2 separate regions of the Homo sapiens genome follow, and region 2 is linked to region 1. The links are contacts of gene promoters, found by promoter capture Hi-C in blood cells and fetal thymus (Javierre and others, 2016). All regions are on one chromosome and are shown on one strand. The core of a region is centred on a gene start or on the middle of the fragment in contact, and the rest is flanking DNA. Distances in the headings are between cores, read along the strand shown. Region 1 holds the start of PCDHA2 (protocadherin alpha 2). Region 2 has its middle 8.1 kb from the start of PCDHB1-AS1.

Region 1 (7,771 bases), core at 3,262-5,761:
TAAATGAATATATTTTTGTTTGTCAAACTTTCAAACATACATGAATGTCCCCTTGTGAAGACATTCTATGAGAAATTAATATAATTTGCTAGTTAAGTTTCCAGAGATTTGAGTTGATACAGAGTTGTTGCTTAGAGTATTGTAAAAAATAGGCTGTAAACATGTTCTGTAACTTTTAATATATTATCGTACTCAGCCTTTTGGCAAGAATCAGAAAAAAATAATCTTAGCATCACGTTGCCAAGAAAATGTCCCAGTTCCTCAAAATATGAGACAAACTTTGCAGGATTATAAAATTGGAAAAAATAGATCAGAAAATCACAAAATAATTTCTCTTTCCAATTCACATTACTGTGTCCCCAAAGCTTCATTTGCTAACAGTATTAATGGCCAGGCTTAGGATTGCCTTTACATACATTCAATATTTCTTTATTTAGTTTTCTAGGTTAGTTGAGTGTATTAACCTGAAGGTGAATCACAAATAATAGTGAATTACTATTAAACCAAAAATAAATGGGCGTAGGAGTACAAAATTTGAAAAGTAATTTTTATGAAAAGGTAATTCTAGAATGGAGGAAAAAATGATTGTGGAGTGGTATTGTCACTTAGTGTTTATTTTAATGTAAATATGAATGGATTTCCCATTGGTAGTTAAAGTTCTTGCTCCATTCCAAATCTTCATATAGTTAACACAACTTTCAACAGGTTTATCTTTCTTCACAAGATTTCATCCACAAACTAGTAAGGTATCATTTGAGGGACCTTAGAGACTTGTGGTCAGTGAAGGATGCAAATAGATGAAAATGAGAAATAGTTTATATTGCTAGCCACTACCGATATTCCTCTGAGAATGCTGGAGGATTTCACTTTTCTGTTATTTTGAGGTAGCACGATTGTGTAATTTCCTTTGGCCAATGAAATGTGAATGGTGTGTCACTTCCAAGCAGAATTATGTAACTGCCAGTGAAAGACTCTTCTGCTATCTTTTCCTGTTACAGCAATTACATAAGCACTGGTTGATACTGAGACACCATAAAGTCAAAGCAATCCAGGATGCTGAGCCAACATGTGGAGAAAAGCTGTCATAGGAAGTCCCCAATAACTACAAAGGACTCTGCAGCAGCAAGAAATAAAATTATGTTTATTTTAGAGGAAAAACTGAATGTTAACTCACAACAGCATATGTATTGAGGTCCCACTGCCATTAAGCTAATATGAACCAGATAAATTTTAAGAGGGGGGCATTTTTTTTACAACAGGAAATACAACTGTAGGAGAACATTATTGTTGACACTTTTTACTAAGACATCTGACCGTTAAGCAGATTAGATAACTTGAATTCCATGGAAAAAATCTACTGTGTTTTGATTTCTTTTTCTTAAATATAAAAGGTAGCAGAAGAAAAATAATAAACTGAAATTTAAAATGTCATAGATATTCCTTCTTTTTTCTTGCTTAGCATCCACTCCCCTTGTTGTTTTTTTCTTCTGGGGTCTTCTAGTAGTTTTGTGAAAGACTAGGTTGAAGGTTTTGCAAGAATGAGTGCTTGGACATGTAAACGTTAAGGGATATACAGTTCCATAGATAGGTGCAAAGGGTATAATTTTAGCAATGGGTACTATATTAATTTCCTTGGGCTGATGCAACAAATTACCACAGACTTGGTGGCTTGAAATAACAGAAATTTATTTTCTTACAGAGTCTCTGTAAGAATAAATTTCTTCTCTCTTATGGAGGCCAGAAGTCCAAAATCAGCGTGTTTCCTGGGCCGCATTTCTTCTGAAGACTTTAGGGGAAATTTTTTTCTTGGATCTTCCAGCTTCTGGTAGCTCTTGGCATTGCTTGGCTTGTGGCAGCATAACTCCAGTTCCTGCCTCTGTCTTCACATTTCCTTCTTTCCTGTGTTACTATATGCCTTCTCTTTTTCTGTCTTTTATAAGGGGCAACCATCATTGGATTTATGGCCTTCTGTAATCTAGGATGATCTCATATCAAGATCCTCATCTTTGTTACATCTGCAAAGACCTTTATTCCAAATAAGGTCACTTATTTAAACCTCAGAAAAGTGATGTCTTTTGGGGTATCTTTGACCCAAAACAGGTACCAAGAGATATCAAGTGCAGTGGGAGGAAGGATATTTGCTGAGCATGGCTTCTTAATCTCTTTTCCCCGTTGTGGGGGAAATGTACTTGCATATCTGGCAATAGTATTCTATCTCCGGGGGAAGGGGGAAATATTCCATATTCTCAGAAATCCTAAATAACAGCACAAAATGCCTCTTATACCCCCACATATGTCATTCTGAATATCCGGTATAATTAATTACCTTATATGATTGCAGAAATTGTCTCAAGCAAGCCATGTTTCCTGAAGCTAGCATCTGGATTCTAGGTATAATTCCTTCTATGTGTCAACAGTGGTCAATGTTGGCTATAGATTAAATAATAATTACTGGGTATCATACATATGCAATTGCTTTGCAACTACATAATGCTGTAACGAGCAGTTCTGAAGCTATCTGCCATCTGTTTAAGCTCCAGGAGAATTTGGGTACATGCCATGACCTCCACTTTTCAGTTCACATAAAAACCAACCTCCCACTTTTCAGTTCACATAATTTAGGTGGAGCTGATTTCATTTCCTGGCTTCAAGAATGAGCAAGTGGACCCATGTCTAGCCAATGTGAGAAAAATCACAATTATTGACTAAAGGAAATTTACATCATCCAAACTGGGCTGTAGGAAGTAATATCCAGGATTTTTGCTGGACTATTAGAAAAGAGCACTTTCTGGTAAGAGTCATCAAACTGGTAATTTTTAGTCTAGAAAGCTACTTTGGCCATTTTGCCAGCAGATGGGAAAAGTCTATCTGAGAAGAAGTTCAGCAGGGGAAAAGGAATTATAAATGTGGAGATTATTTTCCTTATGGAATTATGGAAGGGTGTAGACCCAGCTCTGTCTGAAACCAGTAATTAATTACCCATTTCCATGTATGAGTCAGTACAGGATTCTCTGGTTTATTTTTGCTTAAATCGGTTAACTTGGGATTTACTGTTAGAGTATGATTAACATAAATACACATTTCCATAGATGGTACAAATGAGTATCTTAAGATACTGTACATGAGGGAAAAAAATTGTTATTGGAAAAAAAGCTAGCTTTTCTTAACAAGAGCTTTGCTTTTCTCTTACGGACATTGCAAATTTTGCAATTAATTTTACTTCTCTCTTTGCTCTAGGAAGCTGAAAACAAAATTGGTGACATGGTTAGAGTAACTGAAGGTGACCCTTTATTATGGATTTTGTATGCTATCCCACTCCTTGATTCATTTTATTTCATCCTCATCTTATCTTTATTCTATTTTCATTTTTTTACTGTGAAGGGATCAGCTAAAAATTAACAAAAGAAGATATTCTCAAGTAATTAACACAAAAAAAGAGATCGATTGTATTGTTCTTGCATAAAAGTCTAAATGTAATGGAAAAGGAATATTCTAAAGTAATAGTACATTATCCAAATGAGAAACAAATAAATTATTAATTTCAAAACATTTGCAAACAATTCAAAAATCAAAATTAAATCACAAAACAACAGTATATATACACATATATTTTCAATGGACTAAAATACCTTTGATTACTATGTTCTTCATTTGAAGAAATAGTGAAAAATGCTAATATATCCAAAAGAATTGAAAGCAGGGTCTCAAAGAAATATATGCACACCCATGTTCATGGCAGCACTGTTCACAACAGTCAAGAAATGGAAGCAACTCAAATGTCCACGAATACTTGAATGAATAAACAAAACGTGGTGTATACATATGTTGGACTATTATTCAGCCTTAAAAAGGAAAGAAGTCCTGTCACATGTTACAATATGGATGAACCTTGAGGAACCATCCACGGATGCTTGAATGAATAAACAAAACGTGGTGTATACATACGATGGACTAGTATTCAGCCTTAAAAAGGAAATAAATCTTGTCACATGCTACAACATGGATGAACCTTGAGGACATTGTGCTAAGTGAAATAGGCCAGTCACAAAAAGACAAATACTTTACGAGTCCACTTACACGAAATATCTAAAGTAGTGAAATTCATAGAAATAGAAAATAGGACTGTGGTTACCAGAGACTGGAGTGACGGTGAAAAGCGGAGTTGTTGTCTAATGGGTATAGAGTTTCTGTTTTCCAAGATGAAAAATTTGTAACAATGTGAATATACTTAACATTACTGAAATGTACATTTAATCATAGTTAATATGGTAATTTTAAATATTATGTTGTGTGTTTTTTAACCAGAGTAAAAAAGGGTAAAAAGGTAATATATTTTAGGGCTTAAAATAGTTATTTTTTTCCAAGATGAAAGCTATGAGTAAACTTAAACCAGAAAATCGACTAGTTTTAAATCTACAGAATAAACAGTAGAGCCTTCCTTTTAGCCACATGATGTCGCTGTCCACCATAGAGTGTTCTCTAGGAAGGAAAATACCCAGAGCCCCTTTGTTACTTCAGAGAAGCGGAGGAATAAGAGAAGCAGCAGGACTTTAACAGAGACTAGAATATTTAAATTTTTGCAAAACATGCTCTTCTAATTTGATCAAAACATTGAGGATTGGTAATGGCGTCTTCTATCAGAAGGGGCCGAGGGGCCTGGACACGGCTGCTCTCGCTTCTGCTCCTCGCAGCCTGGGAGGTGGGGAGCGGCCAGCTCCGCTACTCCGTCCCCGAGGAGGCCAAACACGGCACCTTCGTGGGCCGCATCGCGCAGGACCTGGGGCTGGAGCTGGAGGAGCTGGTGCCGCGCCTGTTCCGGGTGGCGTCCAAAAGACACGGGGACCTTCTGGAGGTAAATCTGCAGAATGGCATTTTGTTTGTGAATTCTCGGATCGACCGGGAGGAGCTGTGCGGGCGGAGCGCGGAATGTAGCATCCACGTGGAGGTGATCGTGGACAGGCCGCTGCAGGTTTTCCATGTGGAAGTGGAGGTGAAGGACATTAACGACAACCCGCCAATATTTCCAATGACAGTAAAGACTATCCGGTTTCCCGAATCAAGGCTGCTTGATTCTCGGTTTCCTCTAGAGGGAGCATCTGATGCAGATATAGGAGTAAATGCTCTTCTCTCCTACAAGCTCAGCTCCAGTGAGTTTTTCTTCCTAGATATACAGGCAAATGATGAACTAAGCGAATCTTTGTCTCTCGTGCTGGGGAAATCGCTGGACAGAGAGGAAACTGCTGAGGTTAATTTGTTACTGGTGGCTACTGATGGGGGCAAACCTGAGCTCACGGGCACCGTTCAAATACTTATTAAGGTATTAGATGTAAATGACAATGAACCAACTTTTGCCCAATCAGTTTACAAAGTAAAATTGTTAGAGAATACGGCAAATGGGACCTTAGTGGTTAAGTTAAACGCTTCTGATGCAGATGAAGGACCGAACAGCGAGATTGTGTATTCACTCGGTAGTGATGTGTCCTCCACTATACAGACTAAGTTTACCATAGATCCCATCTCAGGGGAAATCAGAACTAAGGGAAAATTAGATTATGAAGAAGCAAAGTCCTACGAGATTCAGGTCACTGCAACTGACAAAGGAACCCCTTCAATGTCAGGACATTGTAAAATTTCATTAAAACTTGTGGACATCAATGATAACACACCAGAAGTCTCAATAACGTCTCTCTCACTTCCCATCTCAGAGAACGCTTCCCTGGGCACTGTCATTGCTCTCATCACGGTGTCGGATCGCGACTCTGGTACGAATGGACATGTCACCTGCTCCCTGACGCCCCACGTCCCTTTCAAGCTGGTGTCCACCTTCAAGAATTACTACTCGTTGGTGCTGGACAGCGCCCTGGACCGCGAGAGCGTGTCAGCCTATGAGCTGGTGGTGACCGCACGGGACGGGGGCTCGCCTTCACTGTGGGCCACCACCAGCGTGTCCATCGAGGTGGCCGACGTGAACGACAACGCGCCGGCGTTCGCACAGCCTGAGTACACAGTATTCGTGAAGGAGAACAACCCGCCGGGCTGCCACATCTTCACGGTGTCAGCGTGGGATGCGGACGCGCAGGAGAACGCGCTGGTGTCCTACTCGCTGGTGGAGCGGCGGGTGGGCGAGCGCGCGTTGTCGAGCTACGTTTCGGTGCACGCGGAGAGCGGCAAGGTGTACGCGCTGCAGCCGCTGGACCACGAGGAAGTGGAGCTGCTGCAGTTCCAGGTGAGCGCGCGGGATGCGGGCGTGCCGCCTCTGGGCAGCAACGTGACGCTGCAGGTGTTCGTGCTGGACGAGAACGACAACGCGCCGGCACTGTTGGCGCCTAGGGCTGGCACCGCTGCTGGCGCAGTGAGTGAGCTGGTGCCGTGGTCGGTGGGTGCAGGGCACGTGGTGGCGAAGGTGCGCGCAGTGGACGCTGACTCAGGCTACAACGCGTGGCTTTCGTACGAGCTTCAGCTGGGTACTGGCAGCGCTCGCATCCCGTTCCGCGTGGGGCTATACACGGGTGAGATCAGCACGACACGTGCCCTAGACGAGGCTGACTCCCCTCGACACCGCCTACTCGTGCTGGTGAAGGACCACGGCGAACCAGCGTTGACAGCCACGGCCACCGTGTTAGTGTCGTTGGTGGAAAGTGGCCAGGCACCCAAGGCCTCGTCGCGGGCGTGGGTGGGCGCCGCGGGCTCAGAGGCTACGCTGGTGGATGTCAACGTGTACCTGATCATCGCCATCTGCGCGGTATCCAGCCTGTTGGTGCTCACGGTGCTGCTGTACACTGCGCTGCGGTGCTCGGTGCCACCCACCGAGGGTGCGCGCGCGCCAGGAAAGCCCACGCTGGTGTGCTCCAGCGCCGTGGGGAGCTGGTCTTACTCGCAGCAGAGGCGGCAGAGGGTGTGCTCTGGGGAGGACCCCCCCAAGACGGACCTCATGGCCTTCAGCCCTAGCTTATCTCAAGGTCCAGACTCCGCAGAAGAGAAACAGCTCTCAGAATCAGAATACGTAGGAAAGGTGAGTCTTTTACTTTTTCTTGCCAATTCTAAAATTGTTCTTTTTAAAAAATTCTATATGATTTCTACTAGTTATTTAGATTCATAGTTCTTCATTTATTTTATATCATCCTACCGTGCGATTTTGAATATGAATTAGAGATCAATTTATTGCATTTACTGAACAATTTATTTAAACAATCTACATAACTGTTTTCTTATTTTTACATTTTGGCACTTCCATCATTAAGTCATAAGTAATAGACCATGAAACACTGAAAAACACCTCAGCAAAATTTGTAAATTAAACATTTCCCATAAATATTTTCTCTCTTAAAAATTGAAAATCACAATCGGAAGAAATTAAAGAATTTGATTATATAATACGTATTTTCAACTGACACTGTCTATCCAATCTGTCGGATAGTGTTTGGAATAACCTATATCCTGGACATTTCTTAGATTGTTCTTTGGATCAACAATGCCCTTGTCTATGCAATAGTTAATAAGCTACATTTTTTTTTTGTTTGTTTGTTTTTGTTGAGACAGTCTTGCTCTGTCACCTAGGCTGGAGTGCAGTGGTGTGATCTCAGCTCACTATAACCTCTGCCACCCGGGTTCAAGTGATTGTCTTGCCTCAGCCTCCTTAGTAACTGGGATTACAGGCGCCCACCACCACGCCCGGCTATTTTCTTTTTTAAATTTTTTATTTTTAGTAGAGACGGGGTTGGTCTCAACTAAATGTTGGCCAGGCTGGTCTCAAACTCCTGGCCTCAAGTGA
Region 2 (7,771 bases), core at 2,601-5,100, 290 kb after region 1:
TTGAGGTGGATGATAAGATCAAATAATTCATTGAAAAGAGAGAGTTTGAATATGCAGGAATGAAAATAATTCATATTCAACAAGGGTGAAACTGTGAGTGAAATTCTCATAACTTATGCTATGCTTAAAGGTTCTAGATTTTTGCATAAATAAGAATGTGCTGCATGTTCCATTGAGGTAAGGGAGAAGGATAATAGAGTGCAGTGTAGGAGTCATTTAGACTTATATTTGTTTGTAGGAGTAAACCAGACAATGTAGAGAAGTTCTTGCTTTCATAGTATTACACTAATAATAGTAAACATTTATGAAGTACCATGATGTTCCATGCTCTGAGCTGAGCATTTCATAAGCGCTGTTTCTTTTTCTTTTCTTTTCTTTTCTTTTTTCTTTCTTTCTTTCTTTCTTTTTTTTTTTTTTTTTTTGCGATGGAATCTCGCTCTGCCACCAGCCTGGAGTGCAGCGGCTTGATCTCAGCTCCCTGCAATCTCGGCCTCCTGGGTATAAGTGATTCCCCCCTGCCTCAGCCTCCTGAGTAGCTGGGACTACAGGTGCGCACCACCACACCTGGCTAATTTTTTGTATTTTAGTAGAGACAGGGTTTCACCATGTTGGCCAGGACGGTCTGAATCTCCTGATCTCATGATCCGCTCACCTCACCCTCCCAAAGTGCTGGGATTACAGGTGTGAGCCACCGCGCCTGGCCTGCACTGTTTCATTTGATTGTCACAACTTCATGAAGGAGATAACACTATTATATCCATAATTTTTTTCAGATGAGAAAGCAGAAGTTTGGAGAGATTAAATACTTTTCCTAATTTAATGTATGTGAAGAAGCAGAGCCAGGACTTGAATATGACTCTTAACATCATAAAGTCTTTTTTTTTTTTTTTTTTTTTGTGACAGTCTTGCTCTGTTCCCCAGGCTGAAGTGCAGTGGTGCGATCTCAGCTCACCGAAGCCTTCTGCCTTCTGGGTTCCAGCGATTCTCCTGCCTCAGCCTCCTGGGTAGCTGGGATTACAGGCGCATGCCACCACACCTTGCTAATTTTTGTATTTTTAGTAGAGACGGGGTTTCACCACGTTGGCCAGGCTGGTCTCAAACTCCTGATCTCAGGTGATCCGCCCACCTTGGCCTCCCAACGTGCTGGGATTACAGGCGTGAGACACCGTGCCCAGCCAACATCATAAAGTCTTAATCACCACTTTAAATATTTCCTTAAGATATTGTTAACTCAAGCTGCAGGATTTTCCTTTAAACTGGAGATGTGAGCCAAGTTCAAAGAGAAAAAAGAGGCCTATCCCTATCCTTTTTTTTTTTTTGAGACAGAATCTTGCTGTGTTGGCCAGGCTGGAGTGTAGTGGCATGATCTCGGCTCACTGCAACCTCCATCTCCTGGGTTCAAGCAGTTCTCCTTCCTCAGCCTCCCAAGTAGCTGGGACTACAAGCATGAGCCACCATATGCAGCTGTTTTGTATTTTTAGTAGAGACGGGGTTTCACCATGTGGGCCAGGCTGGTTTCGAACTCCTGACCTCAAGTGATCTGTCCGCCTTGGCCTCCCAAAGTGCTGGGATTACAGGCGTGAGCCACCACGCCCGGCCCTATCCCTAGTCTTTTAGTTGTCATCCCTTGACACTTCATACAGGGCTCTGTGATGTTGACTGACTGAAAGACTGCAACCCCGCTATGGGCCACGATGTTCATTCACATCATTCGAGAAAAATCTTATTTCCTGCAAAATCAGAAATACTTCATCTGCAGTAGAAAATCATTTCAATGGGTTTGTGTTTAAGTTGGTACCATAAAATTAAACTTAGCTTAAACCTCACCTCCTCTGAGACTCTTCCTGATACCTCACTTCTGTTCTTAAATATCCCTTTTTAGTACCTGATAGTGCCTATGCAAATCACCGAGTCACCTTTTTAATATTCTAACCTCCTGCGGTGTAGGCACCAGACTTTACTCAACTTTATATCCCCAATGTCTTTTACAGTGCTTGAATATAATCTGTGTGTAAAAAATACCTGCGAAGAATTAATCAGTTCAATGAATTTATGGCCAAATGACTGGCTTGATTGAAATGAAAGAAATCCAATTCGGTTCCTCTCAAAGGAAATCTCACAGCTGATATTATGATAATAAACAACCATTGTTTTTGTTCACATTAAGTAAACTAAATATTGGAGAAGTAATTAAAACTCAAGAGGTGAGAATTCCGCCCCTAGATGTGAATATGAACAGATTTTGACAGTTTCCGCAGGAAAGCGCTGTACAGCCCAGGTTTTCAGTTCGGACGCCTGGTGGCACTACAGGCTAAAAAGTAGGAGGAGGAGGAGCCCTGCATTTGCCTGCAGACTCCATCTTAGAAAAGACAAAATCTGAAAGGTGCTGGGAACAGATACGAGTTGGAAAACGTCCGCAGCGAGCTCAGATTTTAGAGCTTTCTTCAAACGAATGGGGACTACACAAATGTTTGGAAGTCTTACAGGATTTCCGAAGACTTCATTTACTAAAGGCAATGCACTCAGAGGATATACAGGAAATTGTGCGAGAAAAAAATCTGGCAGAAAACGCAGGTGGTGGGTTTTCATTTTCTTCCCGGGTGTAGCGCAGGCGGCCCAGGAAAAGGAAAACTGCTTTTTTATGGTCAGGGTTTCTGGAGATTGGCGCTGGCGGCGGAAAGGGGAGCGGCGGGAGGACAGACTGGAGCAGGATAGTTTCCAAAGAGACCAAATAATATTTCAGATCGACCCACAGAAGAGTCCTTGCTCTCAAGTAGAAAATCGGACCTATAGGAGCCCTGCATTTCCAAGAATTACCTGTATTTAAAAAAAAAAAAAATTTGTCTTTTGAGAAAAATCTGTGTCTGAGGTGTAACCGTTTCCTCCTTTGAAAAATTCTTCTGAATGTTCCAGAATGTGCACCAGGAACATGTATGAGGTTTGGGTAAATTTTCCATCATTGGAAACTACACACTCATTTTCAATTTCCATGTTCACAATAATGTGCTGTGCAATATTGGGGTAAGTAATTTGTCCATACGCGTGAAAAAAATCGCTGGATGAACCACAGCCCAAGGTAAGTTTAACTCTCCCAGAGAAGAATGGTAGATATCTGAGACCTCCTAAGTCCAAGTCATGACAATCAATGACAATCTTTGAGATGCAGGTCTCACAGCAACCGGCTGAAGATTTAGTCTGAGTAAATAATTATGAATCGGCTCTCAGAATTCTCCAGGCTCACTGAATTCTGCAACCTCTGGAGAGCATTTTAAATGCTAGCAGAACATTTTAAATACCACTGATACCCCATGCATCATAAGCATCCACTGCAAGAGAATTACCAGGAAATTTCAGTGCCACGTGGCAAATACTCAGGCAATTACAAGCAGAAATAGTTTCAGAAATTGTTTCTTCATGTGAAGGACGGTGGAAGACCATGCCATTGGATGACAATCACATAGAATTGGTCATGTTGACACTTATCTGCCTCATCCTGGAGCACTTCTGGGAAGACTTCATCTGTTTAAGAACCATAATCTCAGCACCCTGAGATAAAACAACAACAACAACAAAAACAAAACAAAACAAGAAAAAGCTTTGATCCTTCCTACCAGAGTTTTCTTTTCATTGGATATTTAAAATATTCCATAATCTGACAACCTAATAATGCAAACCAGAAAAGAGAGCTACACGCAACATCACTGTATTTCCAATGAAATTAGGTTCCAGGAAGCTCAAAACAAGACAGTAGGTAGAGACAGCTATCATCCTTGGCGTTCTTCCTTTTGGATTCTGGATAAAAGGTAGAGGAATAACAGCACCGTTCTGAATGTTTTGGTTATTTTATGGCTCTAATTTCCATCGTGTTTTTTTTCTGAAGCATAGCTAATTGTTCATTAACAGTTAACAGATATTGATGGCTTAGCTATTTTTATCTTTTTATCTATTTCACAAAGGTCTATTTAGAATCTAGTAGTGTATTTCCTCTTTATTGTTAAGCACAGAAAAGGAACGCATTTTTTTCTGCTCATGCCTAGTTTCCTTTGATCTTTCTCAAAGGTAAATTACCCCTAAAACTTTGAGTAGACTGTCCTAGCAGATATTCTGAAGCTTGACAAGGAAATTCATCCCACTTCAATCCATAAAATGATAGTCTTCGTAACTTCTCAAAGAAGGTCAAGCTATTTATTTTAAAGTCATCTTTTGCTTTTCTTGATATTTCGTAAATGATGGCTGACAAGTTGTGATAGTCTACTTTTCAGCAGGACTGGTCTCCATTTACTTAGTTTAAGTAACTATTTACTTGATTACTATTATTAATATATGGTTTTAACTTTTTATTTGAAATAGTCATTTGATGATTTTGGTGATATTGATGACCACGAAATCAAATGGAGATATACAACTACAAGAAAAAAAACTGTAGAAATAAATGTCTTTTTCGTTATTTAAGACGTAAATCAACTGAGTTGCTGTGTAGCTTATTTATGTCAATGTTAAATTTGTGTTTGTTAATTTTTACTGTTTCCTTATTAAACATCAAAAATGATTAATTCTTTGGCAATTAATATCATAGCATATCCAGTACATTAAATGTCATGTAAAACAGACCGACAAAACAATCTTATCTTTTTTTTCTTTATGTCAGTGTTTAATACTCTCCTGTATGGCTTAGGAAAATTAAAGAAGATACAACAGAATATGCCTCAAATAAGACCTATTTGTTGATATTTAATATATTTATGATAGTTGCTGATAAAATGAAAACAGACATTATTCAATACACTGGATAATAATTACATAAATACAAAGTGTTTGGTGTTTTCATTTGCCTTTCTCAAATACTTTTTTTCTTTCTAGAGAGTTTAATGCACTGACGGGGGGTGGGGGGCGGTCCTATAATGGCACTGCAGGCTCAAATGGTGGTTAAAGCAGATTGCAAATACAGTGCTGTATGTTTCATATTATATTACCCTGTCTGTGAAAGTTGTATTGGATGTCTAAGATTCTGGTGGCATAAGTAATAGAAACATTAGGGTGATCAGAGTTTGTGTAGGACCATATTTGCTGGAAGGTGTTAGAAGAAGGAATAATGTAATACTTAAAGCCCAGTCTAAAACAAAGTGTGATTCTGTTTTACTAAGCATGTACCATTCAGGATACTGAACTGCAGAATTCTGTTCCAGAGGTGCTGGAGAGTGGTTCCTTCATTGCTAATTTTGCAGAGATTTTGGGCCTTAGGATGGGGAACTTGAGAGGTATGGGGAGCGAGAGGGTAATTCATGTTTCTATAGATTTAAAAAACTGCATTTTCAAATCAAAAGACTCAGGAGTGGGTACTAAATAGAAATTGGATCCATCTGTGAGTCTCAAAGCACCTTGGAAAAATGTAACTCATTTGAGTTACTCATTTGCCTTGAGAAAGGTAACTTGGAAAAATGAGTTACATTTTTACAAGGTGCCTTGGACTCACAGATATAGCCATTCACTAGTGTGTATTACTGGATCTAGGAATGCTGCAAAAAATCAAGGAGAGCATCTTGTAGAGACCATATAGATGGCAGAACATGTAGACAGAGCAGTATTCATAAGTATATTTTGAATCCTAATTCCCATGTCTTCTCTTCTGTTTGCTTAGAGAATGGTGGCAGAAAATATCCTGAATGAGGATGGGCAATTTTCTCAGTGGAAAGAAATGGGTTGAGGTTAATTTAACTATCATGATATTGGATGGTGGGTCCCCACATAGATCCAAATCTGCATTGGTCTTCACCAAAGTTGTGGGTTATCAGTGATTTTACTCAGCTGTAATATATAGTAGTTCAGTACAGTAATCCCAGAAAAAAAGTTTTTCCTCCCTGGCTATCACTTTTCTATCAGGAATTTGGATACAAGGTATAATATAAAACTATCTTTAAGGTTTTACCGGGCTACTGAAGACTTAATGAAAACTTTAATAAAGCATTTACATTGGTATAAAAGTACCAAAAGCAAACCCATCACTCAAACCCGTAAATTCCAAGGCTATACTAATCTACAGTGTGGATTCTGAGATCATCAATAATTAAAGACTCTAGAAAATGTAACTTCTTGCTGTAAAAGACAGTCCACTCCTAATCATCATGTCATCATTTATGAACTAGGTCCCAAGGAGCCATATCTGCTTTAAGACCATATCTGCTGTTTCCTGTGTTTCAGATCCAGATCACAGAAAAAAAAATAGATATTTGGGCTTCATAATACCACCTTCCCTTCACCCTAAAGCCTTCAATAGAGGTAGATTAAAGACAAGTACAATTCTATGATTACTGCCAGAGATCTGGAGTTACTGTAAGCTGAAAGGAAACAATATAACCAGGTCTTCATTTTCACCAAACTGCCTCTGCACTTATCAAGTATGAAAACACAGCCCTAGAGTGTGCATTTTAGCAGCACACTGCCATAAACAGAGACTTAGAAAAACACCCAAGTAACTTATTTGCTTCTGGTTTCCCAGGATGTGCAGTACTCCATGACAGTGGACACAAAGAATCTGTTTGTAAGGCCCATAAGAGTCAAGTTCTGTATGAGAGAAACAGACACTACTACTACCATGAGCTAGCAGCATGGTGTTGGTGTGGTTGGTAATATTTGATGGCAATGGCAATTCTCCTTTGTGTTATATTTAATGCAGAACGGATTATGTGATGTTCAAGGTGGTGGCAGTAGAAGGAGACTAGGTCTGGAAGGTCTTCATGTCCTATCAGTTACTCAAAGACTTGAGTCTCCATCTGTATAGCGTGTTAGCCCAACACTGGGAAGTGTGCACACTAGGTTTGTGAGTGATGGTAATCTAGCCAATCATAGACTTCAGGTTATGGTCAAGGACACTGAGATGCCACCTATGTATTCCAGATTCAGACAACAACTGCTGCTGGTCAGCTGTTTCTTTCAGCTCTACTGGCTACATCTTGACAGACCTCAGGAATATGGGGTCTGTCACTTAGATTCCTCACTTAGCATATACTATGGTTTTAGTATTCCTTTGTTTTCTTGTTGGCCTGCTTCTTTACACAGTAGATGTTCAAATAATTACTGTGATATGAAAATATGTTATAATTTTCAAGTATTTCCTTATATTTCTTTAGCATATCTAAATTGATTATTTATGCTTTGTATTTTGTAGTCAGAGTTTCAGGTTTCTTCCCCTCACCCCGTATTCTTTGCCCTCTCTACACCTTTGGATTTCTTCATTATTTACTAATTTTCGATATTGTATTTAGCCATATTATTTTCTTTTCTTTTTTTTTTTTTTTGAGATGGAGTCTCGCTCTGTTGCCCAGGCTGGAGTGCAGTGGCGCCATCTCAGCTCACTGCAAGCTCTGCCTCCCGGGTTCACGCCATTCTCCTGCCTCAGCCTCCCGAGTAGCTGGGACTCCAGGCGCCTGCCACCATGCCCAGCTAATTTTTTGTATTTTTAGTAGAGACAGGGTTTCACCGTGTTAGCTAGGATGGTCTCGATCTCCTGACCTCGTGATCCACCTGCCTTGGCCTCCCAAAGTGCTGGGATTACAGGCATAAGCCACAGCACCCAGTCCATATTTTCTTTTAAAGTAAAATTTCAATAGTGATCTTAGTGAAAATTCAATCATCTACCAGATTACCTAAACCTGATTTAAGTTTTAACCTATTTTAATCATAAAAAAAAGTCTGAGATTTTTGGAAGAGGTCATACCTCTGTCTCTCTCATCTCTATTTCCATCTATATCTGTCTATCTAGCTTTATCTGCAG

Evidence for each region. Contacts are between HindIII fragments. The CHiCAGO score rates a contact against its expected background, and 5 or more counts as called.
Region 2: a contact is called between a fragment that was not itself captured here and the fragment with the promoter of PCDHA2 in region 1, in 4 of 17 cell types (M2 macrophages, endothelial precursors, M1 macrophages and 1 more). The highest score is 7.2, in M2 macrophages.

Annotation. Positions count from the first base shown.
Region 1 is chr5:140,790,341-140,798,111 of GRCh38, forward strand. It overlaps PCDHA2 (protocadherin alpha 2), which reads left to right and starts at 4,512. Exons shown (of 4, transcript NM_018905.3): 1 at 4,512-7,012. The coding sequence starts at 4,625. The region is part of intron 1 of PCDHA1 (protocadherin alpha 1); the gene reads left to right. It also overlaps PCDHA@. The HindIII fragment of the contact is 8,329 bases long and covers 364-7,771 here.
Region 2 is chr5:141,082,293-141,090,063 of GRCh38, forward strand. It overlaps PCDHB@. Among named protein-coding and RNA genes, the nearest start is that of PCDHB1-AS1, 8.1 kb to the left of the region's middle. The HindIII fragment of the contact is 515 bases long and covers 3,594-4,108 here.